2 separate regions of the Homo sapiens genome follow, and region 1 is linked to region 2. Evidence: promoter capture Hi-C in 16 types of primary human blood cells and fetal thymus (Javierre and others, 2016). All regions are on one chromosome and are shown on one strand. The core of a region is centred on a gene start or on the middle of the fragment in contact, and the rest is flanking DNA. Distances in the headings are between cores, read along the strand shown.

Region 1 (4,854 bases), core at 542-3,041, 300 kb before region 2:
CACACAGGAGTATATGGACAAATTGCTTGTAGACAAAAGCAATCAATTCAGGAGCAAAGACTACTGAAGGATTTGTTAGACAGCCCTAAAGACTAAGGGGATCAAAACTTTGGGGGTATCTGTAACCCAGCCGAGACCCTGCTTGAGAAATTCTGAACAAATACAGATAGCTGTTCATTAAGTAATCGTATGTGAGGAAAAGGAGACTATTAACACAGTATACACAGAAAAAGCCCATACTTTGTTATGGCTGTAGTTAGAGATGGGGGTTTCCTACGTTGCTCAGGCTCACCTCAAACTCCTAGACTCAGGCAACCCTCCTGTCTCAGCCTCCTGTGTAGCTACTAGGATTACAAGTGTGAGCCACCTTGCCTGGCTTAAAAGTCCATTCTTGTGCTTGTGTGAGTGTGTATAAAGAACTGGATGGATGACACTGCACATGTTAACAGTGATTATTCGTGAGTAGTGGTATTATGAGTCATTTTAATTTTCTTTTTTTGCTTTTTAAAAGTAAATATTCTACAATGAAAAAACTACTAAATTTCTTAATAGTTCTTCATGGCCTAGCCTCAATTTGCCTTCTTCCTAGTTTCACTCCCAAATATATTCTGTGCTGCAACCTCTTTCCCAGGCATTTCATAACTCCATTTCGTGTGAAGAGGTCTCCACAACAAGAAGTGTCATTCTTTTCTGTCATTCAAAATAGTTCTTCCTCTCAGAACTGAACAAGTGAATGGGCTCAAATGTTATCTGAAATCTGTCACAATTCTCTCCTCTCTCCTCTTCATCCCGACAAGCTTCCATCCTAAGTGTTCCCACATTTCAATGAAGTGGGGAAACATCAGACCTAGAGTGAAAACACACACTGCAGACTGACTTATGCACTTTACTGGCCATGAGGGAGCAGTATGTGGCATATAGGAGGTACTTAATAAAGCGAGTTGAATAAACAAATGTGCTTGGGCAGATTCCTTAATCTCAAGTACTGACTTTTTGCCCTGGACATCAAAGATGGTAACTCACAGGTTCACTGTGAGGCTTGCAGAGTTTTGGTTTAAACTAAGAAAAGCTATGCAAATGACAGCAACCATTTGAAGACGGGTACACTTTGGATACCGAAAAATGCTCTAGTACACTATACTCGTTTGAGCTTACAGCAATCTTCTAAGCAGTTATCATCTTTATTTTACAAATGAGGAATCCGAGGCTCAGAGAGGCTAAATAACTTGACAGAAATCACAGAGCTGGTAGAACTGGGATCAAGATTCGAAGTCGGATCTCTCTGCTATAATGTGCTCTCATTCGCCAGGCTAACGACACGTGATATTCACAGGGCACTGTCCAATCTGCCTCTATTATAGGTATTCGCCTGACCACCTTCACCTCTCCACTTAACTGTCAACTCCACGTGGGCGGGGCGTTTTGCACCTCCTGAGCTCGCAATGAAGGTCTGTGAGCAACGGCCTCGCCTCTACAACACCCGACGGACCCTCTGTGCCTCCTCCCCAGCCCCCCGGGCCCACCTTGTGGTGCACAGCTGCGTCTCCCCCATGAGGTAGCGGGGCAGCTGCTCCCGCAGCTGGATGCGGCCCCGCAGCGCCGCCTGACAGAAGGTGCCGTCCAGCAGGATCTGGTACGGCTCGCGGACTCCGAAGTTGTTGCGGAAGAAGCCAAGATGCTTCTTGGCATGTTTCTGCCTTGTGATCTTCATGCCTGGCTTACCGGGACCGAGGCCACCGGACCAGGAAGCATCAGTAAACGCCTCACGCACGCCCCAGTACCCTCAATGCCAGTTTCACCCGGAAATGAAGCGCCTTTGGCCACGGAAGCAAACGCCTCTGTCTTCCGGGCCTGCCCATTGGTTTACGTCATGTCCAGACCAGCGCGCGCTTCCACCGCAGTGCCCGCGCTTAAAGGGGCGGTCCCTTAGGGCGGAACTTGTGCGTACGCTGGAAAACCGCTGGGGTGCGCGATTCCGCACGGGGGCGCACATGCGCAGTCTGGGGCCACGGTAAAAGAAAATTACGAGAATACATTTAGCGTGTTACCTACGTTTTAGAGGCGCGTAGCAAGAGCTTCTCTGAAAGACTGGCAGTATAGTAGTAGTCAGTGATAATATTGAGCCTTAATATGTTCCAGACACTGTCCTAAGTGATTTACCTTACATTATTCCCCTGAATGTTTATAATTCCCAAGTGAAAGAAGGAAATGATATATTGGATAGCTATGAGTGGGGAGGTTTGTACTGGCTGCTTTCCCATAAAGAAATTAAGCACGTTCACGAAGGGCACGTAGTTTGTTAGTGTCTGGAACCCAGTTTTCGTGCCTGAAGTTCAAATGTTCTTGCTACACCACCATAGAAACTAACGTCACTCAGGAACCATTTGTCAGGGCAAAGGGTGCCACCATTTTGCATTTCCTCCTGCCTTAGGACCATCCTAAATCACTCGCATGGAGTGTTTTGGAAGAACTCTCAAGAGCTTCGTTTGCCTAGAGTCAGAATTCCTAACCTTGAGTCCTGGTTTTGCCACAAACCCAAGCCGTTTGATCTTGGGCAACTCCCGAAGAAAGCTGGGTTCAACTTCCTCACTGTCAAACTGGTTGTAGGTCTAGATAAGTTTCAAGTACTCTTTTTATGTGCATGGTCTCTGACATAGGAAGACTACATACTGGGCCAGTAACAGGAAGGCACAAAGCTGACTGGAGGTTTAAAAATTACTTGGTCAATTTGATTAATGAGGAGAATGAATCAGAAAATTTCAAGTTCTCCCGTGGCTAACTGTCGAGTATCCACTTCAAGGTAAAATAATCAAAGAATGGGGAGTATGGAATTTTGCATTTTTGTCCTTGCCTGGAATCTGTCCCAGATCTAGTTTTGGCTAAAGATTGAAAGAACCAGCACAGAAAATGATTTACAACGTGATTGAATGCATTGTTTGCATTTGGGGTTTTATTTCAATATGTAGGTTTATGAAATTGGAATAAGATCTATAATGTTAGCCCTGATCTGAGTCCCAGCACATCACTTAGATGGTTGCTTTCATTTAAACTTAAAATGAATTTAGGAATTGGAAGCCATGAAAACTTTTGCAGGGTTGGATTCAAGGTCTTTGAGTGTAATTGCTCAGTACTTTTCAATTTGAATCCTCTTTTTATCCCTGTATGCCAACTCTCTACTCCAACTATGCGCCCACCACAGACAGAGAAACGAGATACCACCTGAGTCTTGCAAAACAGTTAAAACATTTTTTCTTAAATAGCCTCAGATTTATCTACCAGCTCCTTGGCCACTTTTCAGTACTAAGAAAAATGTGGTGCAGCACTAGGGATTTTAGTCTTATCTTAGTTTTTGTTGTCGTTTTTTAATTTACCAAGCTACAGCACATTTTTTCCCCAAGCTCTATGTATATGACAGTGCCAGTTTGCACCCTATCTTTATTATGAAAACATGAAGATGGTCTATAATGGTGATTATCAAGTTTAAAACAAAGTTTTCGGCCGGGCATGGTGGCTCATGCCTGTAATACCAGAACTTCGGGAGCCCGAGGCGGGAGGATCACTTGAGCCCAGGAGTTGGAAACCAGCCTGGGCAAAATAGGGAGCCCCTGTCTCTGCTAAATTAAAAGAAGACAAAAAGAGAAAAAAATAGAGTTTTCTATTACAGCAGTGTTTCTCAAAACAAGGTCCTGGGATATGCAGAAAAAGCTCTTAGTGTGCTTGTTTAAAATGCCCATTTCTGATTCAGAATAAGTATTGAGGGAGAGGGGTACTATTCAAAGAGGAAGTGACATTTATTACAATCTCCCCAAATCATTATTATGCTCATTAGTGTTCCTGAAGGACCTTTTTTGTAATAAAGCATCGTTTATCCAATAAGATATTTTTATTAATTGGTCCACTTAATACACTTTTGTTTAGATGCCAAATGATCTGTAATGGAAAATCAATATTTAGCCACAACCAAGGCAGAAGCCAAATACTGCCATTATTGAGTGAACCATTTGGATATAAATTTAAATCTGAAATTTTATTTTGAAAGTTATGTCATTATTAAAATATTTAATATTCATTGAAATTTTTTTGACCTTATACTGAAGGAACAATAATTTATAACAGCATTGCTAGTTTTTAGCTTTTTTCTCAGGTCAGTCCACTGGACATTTTCCATGCCAAATAGAAATCCACATTCAGCTGGAGTAAGTAGGCGATTAATTTATTTTTCTTTATTTTTTATGTTCTTCATTTTATTATGTCTGGATCAAATATAGTTTTATAATATTATGCTGTTGTACATGATTTTGAAGTTTTTTTCTTCATGAAATTTTGATGAAGCCAAGTTGACATGAGAATAATTTATTTTTGAAACGTATGACTAATTCCCAAATAGGACTTTCTCATGAAAGATTCATGGCCTAAATGGAATTAAAGAGGTAAACATTAAATATAATTCATAAAGGTTACTTTGTTGAATTTCATCAATGTTAGTATAATTTTGTTTAATTTCGTAAATGTTAGACAATTTAGCTAACATATCTATTGTGGTATTATTCTTCCTTATATTCATATCTAAATATTTATAAACATTTGTTAACATTCATTAGCTCAAAAACAATTTCTACCTAACATTATCTAACATACTGCCTAAATAAATAATTTAGCTAAATAAATATTTTACGACAACTTAGGTAAAGCACTTTGTATTGAGGTCCTATGAGGTTCTTCGCTAAGATCCCCTAGGATAGGCTCCATCATGGAATGCCTTACTGTGAAATTTCAAATATGTCAGAAGGTGTTACAAAGGTCAGATATGGAGGCTGTCACTTTTTAAAATAATCTTTAAAATAAAATAAAATA
Region 2 (4,713 bases), core at 1,923-4,422:
TTATTTATTTATTTTTTGAGACAGAGTCTTGCTCTGTCCCCCAGACTGGAGTGCAGTGGTGTGATCTTGGCTCACTGCAACCTCTGCCTCCCAGGTTCAAGCGATTCTCCTGCCTCAGCCTCCCGAGTAGCTGGGATTACAGGCGTGAGCCACCACACCCAGCTAATTCTTGTATTTTAGTAGAGACAGATTTCACCATGTTGGTCAGGCTGGTCTTGAGCTCCTGATCTCAAGTGATCTGCCCACCTCAGCCTCCCAAAGTGCTGGGATTGCAGGCATAAGTCACTGCGCCCGGCCCCCTGTAGTTCTTTGAAGAGTTTTCTCTGCAGGAATAAAGAAGGGTGGAGAAAACAATTCAGTGGTTCAAATAAAACAACTGTAGAGAAAGCACAGGGATTGTGACTAGACAACTGGGCATGAAGAATTTCACCTTGCCTAGGACCAGCAGAAGGTACAGAAGGTGCAATTCTCTTTTTCCTCATCAGTTAATATGAGAACTCTGCTGAGTAATTTACATTTCAACTTCACAATAACTCTGCAATAAGCAAAAATCTCCCATGGCAAGGATGAATAAATGGAGATTCAGATGGGTTAAGTAACTTGCCAAAGTCACACAGCAAGTATGAGACTAGACTAGAATTTGAAGGAAATCTGTATAATGGCACCATTAAATTCTAAGCCTGTTACTTGAAGAAAAGAAATCCTTTTCCACCCTGGGGTCATACTCACTTTAGAGGAAGAACTGCATGCAGAGACTTTTGTGTTTCACGATGATATTGGAACTCTATATCACAGTGTATTGCCTAATCTCTTCTGAGGATATAAGATTACTTGCTTTGTTGGTTTTCCTAAAAGTTGGCTCCTATAGAGCCTACCTAAGGTAACAAGAAATGCAGCTTCAATTCAAGCCCTGCAATGAACTCTGGAAGGGAACGCATCTGGATTCCCTTCACTGAGTATAAAGTGTAGCTTTCAGCCAGAAACACTGCCTCTTACTGCTGAGAATCCCACACCGAATCCAGAATTTTCACTCCACCCCATTTTTTACTACTTATGTTAAATCTATAAGAGCAGCTCTCTCTGTGTTGAATTGAAGTGAACTACACAACTCTTTCATGCCCTTTGTATAATTAACCTATGATGTATCTTTGGCTTCAAGAACTTAGATGAAAGGAGGTTTTTCTTGTTTAGCGGGTTGTTTGTGGACTCTCATCTCAGATATATAGATATGCCACTGGGCTGTTTTGTTCCCGGGTTGTACCGGGCAATGGAGGAATTCTTGTGCAGTTACTGCTGAACTGGACTGAATTTTTCTGAGTATCTCTTTAGGTTCTAGGTGAGGCATAAGAACCTACATATTTAGTAAGCCTCTCATGCACATTACATTTTGAAAAATAAATGCTTTAGAGGATTGTAGAAAAAACGGTGGCTGTAAAGTTTGTCTTTCTGCTTAAACATCCAGACAGTATGATGTTTTCTAAGCATCTATCTGATGATTGAGCAAATGCTTCTATTTGCTATGTCTACATCCCTCTCTTAGGAGCTGGAGATAAAACACCCCCTTGAAGCTTCCAGTCTAGTTCAGGAGGCACAATCAACATTTATAGTGCAGTGTAGAAAATTATTGCTATGCTTTGCTCTGTTAGATCTGGTAAATTACTCTGCCATAATACACTGACTTCCTAGTTAAATATTCTGTTAAAGTGGAGGTCATTATCTAAGGAATATTTTGTAGGGTTTCTCAATCTTGGCTGCACAATACTATCACTTGGAGAATTAAAAAAATTTGGCACTCAGGCTGCACCCCAGACCCTATTAAATCAGAGTCACTGGGGTTGGGATGCAGGCATGAGTGCTTTCCCCCCGGGTTTTAGTTTCAGTTTCTGTCTTAGCAGAATGTTTCTCTCCTACTCCTTCCCGAGCATCTGTACTTTGGGTCCTGGGAGGGTGTGTGTTTCCTAGAGACATCCATCATCAGTGAGCAGGGTTTTTATTCAGATCTGATAGAAGGCCACGTACTTTGCTTTCCATCTGGGATGCCAGGTCCAACTCTTTAATTAGGCTTTCCCCACGTCCGCTATTGTATCTCATTGTAATTATAACAAGTTGGCATGGCTTATGTTTGAGCAAGGCTTTGAATGATGTGGGCCTGTTCTCTGACATTTAAATTAGAAAAAATAAATTTGCTGAGAGAAGAACTGAGGGGCTACCAGAGAGCCCCCAACCAAATAGTCTATTTTCAGAAACATAATTTCCTATTTGTTTGTATATTGCATTTCAGGAAGTGTTAGGTGCTGGGTTGATGAGAGAGGTGTAAAGCAATTCTACCAGCCACCCACAGGTAAGATGTTAATTACATTGGGTGGGAGCCCAACACCCGTTGAAAACTAGATCCATGAATACTGAGACGGGTGATTTTCCACTGAAAAAATATTTTTCCATTCTGGGGGTTATGCTGCTGACCTGAGACAGCAATTTAATAGTAGGGCCAGTTAGCTTATATTAGATTTCTTTTTAGCCCAGGACTTTCTCAAAGTCCCAGCTAAGCCTAGGGACAGAATCACTGGCTTGGAAATGCAGGACTCTAACGTTCTCCATTGTTTGCGCGTTTCTCCAGATGCCCATCCACTTCGGCCTGGGTGGTCCAAGCTTGTGTTGCAGGCAGCTGCAGAGGTTCCAGCAGGCTCAAAGCCTCTGACGCAACCTTCCTTGTGAAGACTGATTGGCCAAGAGCTGGCAGCCAGCCACGGCTGTTTTTTTTTTTTTCCCCCTCCAGTGTTTGCACTTTTATGTCTAAGCTGCTACCTTTGCTGAACTGAACGGAGGCAAAGTGTTTGAGCTTTATTTTCAAAACTGGGAAGGGTTTGTGAGAAGAAAGCAGTATCCAAGTTTTCATGTGGGTCTCCAGCAGATCATGGCAGTTTTTTGTTGTTGTTGTTGTTGTTTTTTCGGTAAGCATTTATAGATTCAGATATCTCAGAGTTTTGTTATTTCTTTTTTTTTTGACTTTATGCTTCTCAAAGAATCACTGATTAAAGTAATTTAAAGGATAAAACAAGGAGGCAATGTGTGCTGCTCATCTTTTACAGCTTCCTGAATTACTAATAGAAGACTCAAATATCAAAATGCTGCCTAATTGTTTGAGTGCCCACCTTGATTTCAGAGACAAACCCACTTATTACTTCCACGTCTTGTCTTTACATATTTCCTTATCCAGTAAGGATAACTGGGCTTGAACAAGGGAATGGAATAAATTGCTTTTTGTTGACTGTTGTCTAGGTGACAGTCTGAAGTAGCTAATCCTTACAACAGTTCTCTAAGGAGGGCGCCATTAATATCTTGATCTGACACCAGAGGAAGCTCAGAGAGGTGAAGCAACTTGGCCAACGTTACAATACAGGGATGCTAGGAACTGAACCCTGGTCATTGTGACGCCAAAGTCCATGCCTTATGATGGCCATCACTTGCCTCCCTGCCTCAGCTAATGCACAAGGCCAGGGCCTAGAAGACATCTTAAAAATAAGGACTGTTTTGCACAGGCAGCTCTTATCATCTGTGTTATTCACCACTATATTCCCAGAGCCTGGAATAGAGCCTCCTACATAGTAGATGCTTGGTAAATGTCTTCTAAATGACTGAACACTTTTCTTTTCATTGGAACTCTTCCAACAGCATTGTCAAAATATGTAAGCTTTGATCTAAATTATGGTGGTGTATTATTATTATTATATTTAGTGTTGAACTTGGAAGGCTCTTTTACATTTTCTGAATTATGCTTTGAAGGGAATGAGAAACCCCGTTGTTTGGTTCTAACTGGTGTAGTGAGTGTCAGCAACTTAAGCCCTTTCTGCTGCCCCCAAGGAAATCAGCTCCTGAACAAATACCTGTGGAAGAAAAATACAGTTTGTGTCTTATCTGATTCAGAAAGTTTTGTCTTGCTCTTCAGAGGCAAGCTGGTGAAGTTCTGGCACCATCAGATTCAGTGAGGTCTGTTTAAATGTGAAACTTGTTTAAAGAGACAGTGCCTGCACTGGAAATGCCAATAGTCAGTGCATATGATGCCAGGTTTGTCAGAATGTGATGTTTTTCTGTCTTATTTTATGGACATGCAATATAATATATGTCTCAAGGGCTGAAACATCTGTGATAACATTGGATACCTAAACTATATCAAGCTGGGCATAATCATGCACTGGCATATGCGGGCTCATGTCCATGTAGGTTTATTGATGGAAAACGGAAAAGGGGGGAATAGTTTAAATTATCAGTCTTTTCTATGAAGCAAAATAATTGATCTTTTTGTAGAGTATTTTTCTCTGACTGTTTTCATGAAACATAAAAAGTTGTTAAAATACTTTTGCAATTCATTGGGACTGCTTCTTCTAATCTCTTCTTGTAAATGATTCTTTTTTGTAAGAATATTTAAGAGATTATATAGAAAGAATACAATATATAATAATAGTAATAATACCAAACAACAAGTATTTTTTGTTCCAGTCATTGTTACAAAAAGGAACTTTGTCTATAATACCTTAGAGGTGGATACTATTAGTCTACTTATGTGTGAATACCAGGGCTCTGAGAGGTTTAAGACCACACAGCCAGCAAGTAGTAGAAATGAGCTTTAGGTCTGGGTTTATCTGAGAACCAAGTTCATGGCAGGTTCTTAACCACTGAGGACTCTATCTCCTGGTCACGTAGACAAAGCTTTTG

What was found. Contacts are between HindIII fragments. The CHiCAGO score rates a contact against its expected background, and 5 or more counts as called.
Region 1: a contact is called between the fragment with the promoter of UTP23 here and a fragment that was not itself captured in region 2, in 1 of 17 cell types (non-activated CD4 T cells). The highest score is 5.0, in non-activated CD4 T cells.

Annotation. Positions count from the first base shown.
Region 1 is chr8:116,763,461-116,768,314 of GRCh38, reverse strand. UTP23 (UTP23 small subunit processome component) reads right to left here and starts at 1,791. Exons shown (of 3, transcript NM_032334.3): 1 at 1,524-1,791. The coding sequence starts at 1,711. It also overlaps a transcript of EIF3H not described here. RefSeq lists enhancers at 1,405-1,714, 1,725-1,874. The HindIII fragment of the contact is 9,967 bases long and covers 800-4,854 here.
Region 2 is chr8:116,469,937-116,474,649 of GRCh38, reverse strand. It overlaps LOC105375711 (a long non-coding RNA gene), which reads right to left. Exons shown (of 3, transcript XR_928551.3): 3 at 247-323. Among named protein-coding and RNA genes, the nearest start is that of LINC00536, 150 kb to the right of the region's middle. The HindIII fragment of the contact is 1,042 bases long and covers 2,652-3,693 here.